Linked DNA regions of Homo sapiens: region 1 is linked to region 2. The links are contacts of gene promoters, found by promoter capture Hi-C in human tissues and cell types (Jung and others, 2019). All regions are on one chromosome and are shown on one strand. The core of a region is centred on a gene start or on the middle of the fragment in contact, and the rest is flanking DNA. Distances in the headings are between cores, read along the strand shown. Region 1 holds the start of LOC105369697 (a long non-coding RNA gene). Region 2 holds the start of SOX5 (SRY-box transcription factor 5).

What was found. The method cuts DNA at HindIII sites, captures the fragments that hold promoters and counts their contacts. A contact is called where the count stands out against the background at its distance.
Region 1: a contact is called between a fragment that was not itself captured here and the fragment with the promoter of SOX5 in region 2, in 2 of the 25 tissues and cell types used here (dorsolateral prefrontal cortex and mesenchymal stem cells).

What each region holds. Positions count from the first base shown.
Region 1 is chr12:23,630,208-23,634,849 of GRCh38, forward strand. The region is part of intron 8 of SOX5 (SRY-box transcription factor 5); the gene reads right to left. It overlaps LOC105369697 (a long non-coding RNA gene), which reads left to right and starts at 2,115. Exons shown (of 3, transcript XR_001749445.3): 1 at 2,115-2,185; 2 at 4,547-4,596. The HindIII fragment of the contact is 7,266 bases long and covers 1-4,642 here.
Region 2 is chr12:23,947,634-23,951,801 of GRCh38, forward strand. It overlaps SOX5 (SRY-box transcription factor 5), which reads right to left and starts at 2,037. Exons shown (of 15, transcript NM_006940.6): 1 at 1,931-2,037. The coding sequence starts at 1,968. The HindIII fragment of the contact is 5,378 bases long and covers 1-4,168 here.

The sequences.
Region 1 (4,642 bases), core at 42-2,541, 320 kb before region 2:
CAATTCATTTGCATTACCTCCATGGAAAAATGGGAATTGACTGGAGATGTTATTCTCATTTTACAGATATAAATATTGTAACAAGGAACGAACCATAGCAAAATATGAAAAACTACCCTTCATGTAACTGCCCAGATTGTCTTCTGGATAAGTAAACTCATTGCCTCCCATAGATTCTTGCGATGGGCCTTTATTTTATACCACAGAGATGAATGAAATTATTTCTTCAAAAATAAGACATTTTGTCTCAGTTTTATTAACACACTTTAGTGCTGCTCTGAAACGTAAGGAAAGTCTGCCATGCCCTAATTTTCAAGACTTCCTTTAAGCAATAACAAATAGTTCTCAAATCTACTAATAACAATTATTAATCAGCTAATACTATTAAATATTAACTCAAATCCAGCACATGGTATTTGAGAAATAATACATTTATTGTTCCAAGACTTTGCATGCATTATTTCATTTAATCCTCAACAATAAGAGGTCATTTATACCCACTTTACAGACAAGAAAATTGAGGCATGGAGAGGTTAGGTAACTTGCCCAGAGTCACAGAGCTTGAAAGTAACAGTATGATAATTTAAGGAAGAGATGGCTGCAAGAACCACACTTATAACCATTATGTTATACTGCCTCTCACTAAACAAAGTGCTTCTTAAAAGATTAATCTAAAGACAATAGCTTAAAAAGATAAAATTGCTTTCATCATTTTATCTTTCCTCTAATTATCCCCTAAGACATTAAATTTGTGTGTGTGTATCTATACATAATTAAGTACATTTTTCTGTGTATATTTAATTAAGACTCCACCCTATGTTACAAGTTGTATGTAATGCAATTTGTATGTCCCAGTAGCATGCTTTGACTAAACCATACGAATAATGGATAAAAATCCATGGATAATATTAAATAGTTTTCTAGTATCAACAGCAACAACAACAGTAACAAAAACCCCAGCATTTGTTCCTCTTAAGATGCATCTGTCTTCACATGGGTCATTGGTCCTATTAAGGTGATAACTCTTATTTAGGTAAAATTTTACTCCGAAGATTGAATTTGTCTTCATAAAATATTCCTTAAATAAATTAAAGAATACTAGTAAAATAAACTAAACCAACAATTAGGCTGAAGAACAAATTTCTAAGATAAACATAATCTGTGAACTTGAAACACATTAGTTGCCCTCTCTTCTTATCCACAGCCAAAACTAGAAAACTGAATATTTCTGTTTTTCTTGATAAAATTTAAAAAAGTATACTTTAAAAATTTCAATAAATTGGTATTGCTCATAGAATTACATCTACTGCTGGTCTTGGGACAGCAGTTCTTTTATGTATGTTTATTAGCCCAGAAACATTTTAAAGTTACCTAAAACATGTTTTGATTAAGATAACACAGGATACTATCAAGGAATGGGCATGGACTTGTGACCAGAAAACCTGGCACTGACTGAAGTTATATAGCTTTAGTATAGGTAATAACAAAATTTCAAATATAATTTTAAAGTTTACCATTTATTTAATCGACCATTACAATAAAAATGAATACTTTGGAAAAACACACGTGTACTGATGTTTCTGTCAGCATGTAATAAGACACCATGAAGCTGCTGAAAGCAAGAAAACACAGAAATAGTATGAAAAAGACACTGTGTGTACTGACTCCATTGTCCAAATGTCAACACCTCCCAGGAACTCTAGGGGTGGTAATAACTATGGAAGCAGTTCCTAATAGGTTCTTCCTTAAAGGGGATTCTCGACAAACTGCTGGGCTCTGACTCTAGCCCATATGGGCTTGGAAAAGTCAGAGAAAATGTTGGCTGCACTTTTTCAGGCCTATTTGCATATGTTCTTTAGTATGCAAAATGTCTCTGTATATAATTTAATTGTTGTTGGGGTTTTTTTGCCTCTATTAATACATATGCAAATGACTCACTCTTGCAGCTGTGCTGTATTAATCATATGTGTGCTTCTGTCTGTCTGCCCTCCAGGCTCAGGGTCGAAGGGAGAGGAAAAGAAGGAATTCAGTCTTTTAACCTGCAAGAAAACTCACTCATGCAGACAGAAGTCCAACAGCAAACAGCACACCAGGGTTGCGACTGAAATGAAGAGCAGTTGATCATTATTCACCCTGTATGAAAATGATACGACCTAAAAGTTTAACTGAGTAGTACAGTATTTTGGTAGGTAAAGATGAACACTTAACAAGTATACATCCTTGTAAGTAATTCCTTCAATAACAAGATAAAAATCCTCACATCTAGATTTTTCTATATGGTTATTACTTCCTTATTGATTTTCTGGAAGTTTCTCTTGGCCAAGCATATAAAGCCATGCTCAGTCACTCACAGTGCTGGGAAATATGGAGCATTCTTTTATCTGTGTCCTGTCATAATTATTGACCTTCTTCAGAGACTGGCAGGAGTTTGATAAAAAGATGAGCTTCAGTATTTCATCTACCTCTACCTTGATGTTACTCTCCATCAGACAGGAGCTTAAGCCATTTCCAATATTACTTCGTATACCTATGATTGCTATGAAAAAAGATTGATTTCAGTTGATATTTTGTATGATTCATTCTCTAACATGATCACACATCATCTATCATTTTCTCTATTCCAGAGAATGCATGCTACTAATATTACTAGTTACTGAAGCTGTAAGCCCATGAGGTTTCATTTATGACAACTTGGAATTTTGAGCCTTTATTCCAAAAATATTATTATGAATTTTTAAAATAGTCCTACTAAAATAATTTTAAAAGTTTAATTAAGTCAATAAAAATGATGATTGGATGCTACTTGCTTATTTTGAATTAAATAAGATCATCCAAAAAGAATTTCAATCTTTTTTTCCTTCTGCTTATCACTATCAATCATTGGTTGGAGTCAACATTTTTGGCTTCCTATAGGTAGAACAGGTGGCAACCATCTTTTGGCCAAGACAAATACAGTATTTATAAAGTGAGAAGTAAGTGGATAAATATTTCCTTCCAATTTCAAATCTTAGAAGTGTAGCAAAAAACAGAAACAGTACATTACAGAAGAATTATTACTATTAAAAATATTCATGATGCCCATTAAGTAAAATGCAAATTATAACGAAAATGAATATGAGAAATAAATGCTAGATGGATTGTTGCCATCATTTGATCTTATTAATTAGAAACAGATTATTCACATAGCTGATTTTATCTTGTCACAAATGTCCAAAAATTCAAAGTGTAACTTCGTTTTGTGTAAATAGTGATATTCATTTTTAATATTAAAATGAACATAGATAAGTAAGCTATATAAATGAACCCCTCGCCTTTAAAAAGAGTCAGCATCAGTATAATAAATAAGTAAATATCTAAATCATCATTGGCTCTTGGAGGTAAAAAAGAGTACTTGAGGATGAAGAAGAATGAAAAAAAGAAGGAAGGAGAGGAAGAGAGAAGGTAAACTCAGTGTATGGAGCTGCTAATTGGCTAGTAATTATTTTGATAAACACATCCTTCCATTATTTAGAAATAATTTACTTCAGTATTGTATTGGCAGAATAAGCCATGAGTCAAATAAAAGTACCTCCAGTAGTTCATATTTTTATATATGTCTATACACACACTATCACATAATATAGGAATTCTCAAGTATTGTAACATTTGGTCTTTTATTGTGAATTATAATGATTTTAAAAGAATTACATAAACTGTAATAAGTGCTAAAACACATTCTTTATGCAGCAACCCACTGTTATGGTAAGATAAAGGGAAGAAAGAGCAGGAGAGACAGAGAGCTGTGGATTTTTCATACTCTTAGAATCTTCCAATGGGGGCAAGAAAAAACATCAAGTTCCCTGGCCATTAAATTAATATCATTTAACGCAGAAATCAATATATGCTGCTTTTTTTAATTAAAAATTCTTATGACCATTAGCCATGATAGTCTCTTTCATTTGCAAGTATGCACTGAATACCTGCTATTTGCTAGGCATTCTTCTGGATACCTGAGATACATTATTGAACAACAGCAACAATTCTTGTCCTTGTGGGGCGGTACATTTGGAAAAGAAAGACAATAAATAAGAAACATAATACATTTTATAGTATATTTGAAGATGACTAGTGCTATAGAGAAAAATGTAGAATAAAAGAGCTAGGAAGTGTGCTATCTCTTAGGATCCACCTTACGATTTTAAGTAGGTTGGTTAAGGTAGGCCTCAGAGAGATGGTATTAGAGTAAATACATGAATGAAGTGAAAGAATTAGCCTTCCATGCAGAGGAAAGAGCTAGAGAGAACAGCTAGCACAAAACTCTAGGAAGGGAGTATGCCTTGGTAAGATAAGGGCCAGAAAACAGCCTAATGTATCCGGAATAGACTGAGTAGGTGATGTGGAGCAAAACAGTTACAAAATTAATGTCTGTAAACATTGTAGTGCCAAACATGCTACCAGGCACAGAGAGTGTTTTCATATGTTTATTTCATTAAATGAGAATAGTTTATTATAAAATTTCAACATTATCTTAATTAACCAAATTCAAACTGTTTTTTTCTTCTATCAGCCAACCATGCCTTTGATATTTGAAATTCTGCTATTGTCTCGTTTTAAAAGGTGATTAATTAATATAGAAAACTAATTATTAGTATTCAGCTTAATT
Region 2 (4,168 bases), core at 787-3,286:
TACTAACAACCCTATTGATTATCACTTGCTTATTTAATTAGCTAGTTAGAAAAGCATGCCTCTGGGTGAAAAAAAAAAATGAAATTCCCACCAGGAGGAAAAAAGATGTTAACAGATTTGAGCATCAGAATAGGAAAGGGAAAAGTTTAGTTTAAAAAGAGATAATTGAAAAAAAAATACAAATAAAGTTCACAGCAGGAAGCTTGCCTATATAGAGAAATAGGCTACAGCCTGTTAATATGTAACTACCTTTTTATAAGTACAATCTGTTAACAGGCTTACAAATCAGCCTCAGAGTTGTATTTGCAAAAAGTATAATTAGAATTAAAGAATATTATCATTTAAGTGCTACTCTGTGCATTCTAGAAAACTTAACTGTGTTAAATTAGCAAATCGCTACATTAGGTAATGTACAGTATGTTCCACTATGAATAACTTCAACATCTACCTATGATATAAGGCTATATTTGCAAATAAAAGCTCACTAATTAAAGAGTTAATATATAGAAGTGAAAATTTTAATTCAAAACTGTTAAGAAAGCTCAAACATTCGCTGGAATTATCTAGTAAAGATGCAATTTAATTATTAAAAAAAAAAACACAGAAGAAATCAAAGAAAGATGACAGCACCGAAGTATATGTGTTGGCTATTTTACTTTCTTCCCTGATTTGATACTGGCTTTTCTAATATGTGACCACATTCAAGCGTTACTTTATCCTCAATACTCTTTTTCTCTTCCATTGCTTCACTTCTAGAATGTTTTAATCTTTGTCCTTTCTTTTTTCGTCTTTTCATATCAAATTCAGTCGTTTGAGCGATGAACAGCTTGACTTAGCATATTTTTAACCAGCTGGTCTAGCACCTAGCTTGCATTGCATAGTCAGATACAACAAATGTTTATACAGAAGGTAGCTTTCATGAAAATGAAAAAAAGCCTGGGTATCATGCATCCTGGCTTTTTTTAGCTTTTTTTTTTTTAATTCACCATACAGAATACAAAGTTTGAATTCTTTTTAATGGCAAACAAAATTCTATTTATAGTTCAAAAAAATGAACTTATGCTGGGATAAGAACTCAAATTTAAAAATTGCAATGTGTACTTATAGGAACATTAAGAGGGCTAAAATTCTTTCAAAGCCCTGCTTTACTTGCAACAACATCAAATAAAAGGATGCTGCAGATATTTCTCTAAATAGGAACAACTTAATTACAAATACACTATTCCCATCATAGCAAAAGGGGAAAATACAGTAAATTAAAATTCAGTCAAGACAGCTAACACAAAAAGTGGCCACTAAAACTTAGAAAGGGAACAGCTCCATTTATCCCCTTTTCGCCCCTATTTTTGACACTTAGGGAGTAATCTAATATAGCGATGATGTTAAATTTTCTTTGGGGGGAAAAAACGCTCTCTTATATCAACAAAAGGTCATGTGCTTTACTGAGCAGCTTCCAAAGTTTTACGGAAGGATCAAATAGGAACTTATAGCCTCCGTTTAAAGCACCACTAAAACCTTCTGTCACCCTAGAAATTACATGAGACAGAGATGCTGAAAATGGTAACATTCTGCACAAAAGCGTTTTTAAAAGGTGGGGAGAAAACAATCAATGAAGGAAGAAAGTAAGAGAGTGAATGAGAAAGACAGAAGCAGCGAGTTGGGGAGAGAGAGAGAGATGCTTAAGGTTCATTTAATTTGCTGTTATAGGACGCAACCTAAAAACATTAGCAGAAATCTCGGAGACTTTGCAAATCAGTTCAGTTTGGTCCGGGCAATCACAACAAAAAATCAGCTAACAAGATTGCAGAAGCCCTAGCTAAAGGCTTCTCTAACAAACACGTTTTGGGGGAGCATCTTCCAATGATTCAGAGACTACTGTAAAATGGGAGAGTTGTACTTCAATATATTAGGGGGAAAAAACTGTACTCACCTTTCAAACTCCTGAGGTAAATCAGGGTCAGTAAGCATGCTGGAAAAGCACAATTTCCCTTTGTCACAGCAGCCACCTATGATCGTCTCCAACTGAACCTGTCAAGTGAGTCCAAACCTTCTAAACCAATTGATTTTCTCTCTGTCTCTTCCCCCCCTCCCTCCCTCCCTCTCTCTCTCTCTCTCTCTCCCTCTCTCTCTCTGTCTCTCTCTCTCTCTCTCTCTCTCTCTTTCTCCCCCCCTCCTTCCCCTCCTCTCTCTCCTAGGACTCCTTGACCAGTCTCTTAAAGGGGTAGTGCACTTCCAGCAGCGGAGTCTGGCTGCTCCCCCCTCCGCGGAGCCACACGCTCCGGCTGCAAGGCTCTAGACAACCTCAGGGTGCCTGTCCTTTCCTTTTAATTCTCTCTTCTAGACATCACTGAATGTGAGAAGTCAACTCATTTAACACGTCTCCCATACTCTGTCTTCTAAATCATAAAACTCACACACACACATACACACGCAGAACAGTATGATTTTGTAAAACGTATTTGCTGCTGATTAAAAACCTAGTCTATATAATAACAGAAGCTCGATTAAACTGCATTTATTAACTAATTAAGCAAAAAATTTAATGTTAGTAATAGCATTTTTACACAAAGAATTGTTATTCCTTCTCACCCTTTTCTAGGCTCTCTCCGTTCACACACGGAAATACACGCACACACACACACACACACTCACACACACACAACAATCAGGCATTGTTCTGAGGGAAGAAAAGCAACTTTGACAGATTGAAATATAGCAGAGGCCCCTTCAAGGAAACCTGTAAACAACTTGTCACTCACTCTGTCGGTCTCACTGTTAGCTCGTGCTTTCCGCAAAGTGGTGCGAACGTCCTGGCAACCCGACCAAAGTTTCCTCAGCTCTAAACTCCATAAAACACGATGTGCGATGTGGAGGGGAATAGGTATCCACATGCCAAAATAACATACACGAGCGAACAAAAACCCAAAACGAAATCAAAACATAAAAACAAAAAGACGGTACTAACAAACTGTCCTGTTTGGGATCGCTGGGGAGGTCAGGAGTAGGAAGCGCCCCCCTGGCTGTGGATCTCTTTAATTTCCTCTGCCCAGGCAGCCACAGATAACAAGGTGGACAAACTATGGCTTTACAGATTCTAAGCTGGCTGGCAAGGCACAGCCTCCATAGCAGTTCCAATTATCTAGATAAAAATCTGGCAGCCGAGAAAGGTAATCAGGTAATGTACCTTTGACACGAAATGACAGAGGCACATACACACAGAGAGAGAGACACTTACACAGACATGCATGCAGAGATGGTGGCTGCCCCGTGCACCGCAGCATCTGGTCAGGGAGTAAGCACACACTTACCAACAGGAGATAGTGTGCATTCTTCACACACGCATGCACACACACACACACACACACACACACTCACTCACGCACGCTCTCCACTCCTACTGGGAGGGTTCATTCTGCACAAAAGGCTACATTACAGAGCCCGCCCCAATAAGGGAAAGAGAGGAAAAAAAAGCCTTCCATTGTTGAGAGGGCAGGTCAGTTGATTAGATTTTCTGTGGAGAATTCCACGAGGAAATTCCCTTCAAAGCCGAAGTGATTAACTGGGGGCTATTCTGGAAATGGAGCAGACAATGGCTCAATAGTCTGTACAGCCAATGTCCAGGCTGGCACTGAACTCACTTAAAAAAAAAATAAAAGCCAGACTCCCTGTTCTTTTCCACACATTCCTCCCCCCCAACCCCCTCCACTCCTTCCAACTTCCCCTCCCAATTCCTTTTATTTTGCAGCTGGACAACATTAAGGGCCTTTAAAACCACAAGGGTTGACCCCACGGCAGTTTGATTAGGTCCCACTTTTTTTTCTGGAGACAGGCAAACAGTAAGTTTACTTTTTTAGACATTCACAGTGATACATCATACACATATTCCAAAGAGAAAAAAATCAATTATGAACTTATATTAGTAAATTTATTTTTCATTCAAAGCTTATAAATTTTTAGACAAGTTGATAATAACTTAATATTTAATTCTATCATCAGGAGATGTTCTAAAAATATATATATACACACACACACACTACAAAATCAATGTGGAATAAGATTTAAGCATGTCACTATGGAGTTAAGACACTAACAAAACATAGAACTATGACCCACCCTGAAAAAGCTGTTAACAAGGGATGTGGCAAAAATGACTTGATGCTGACATGAT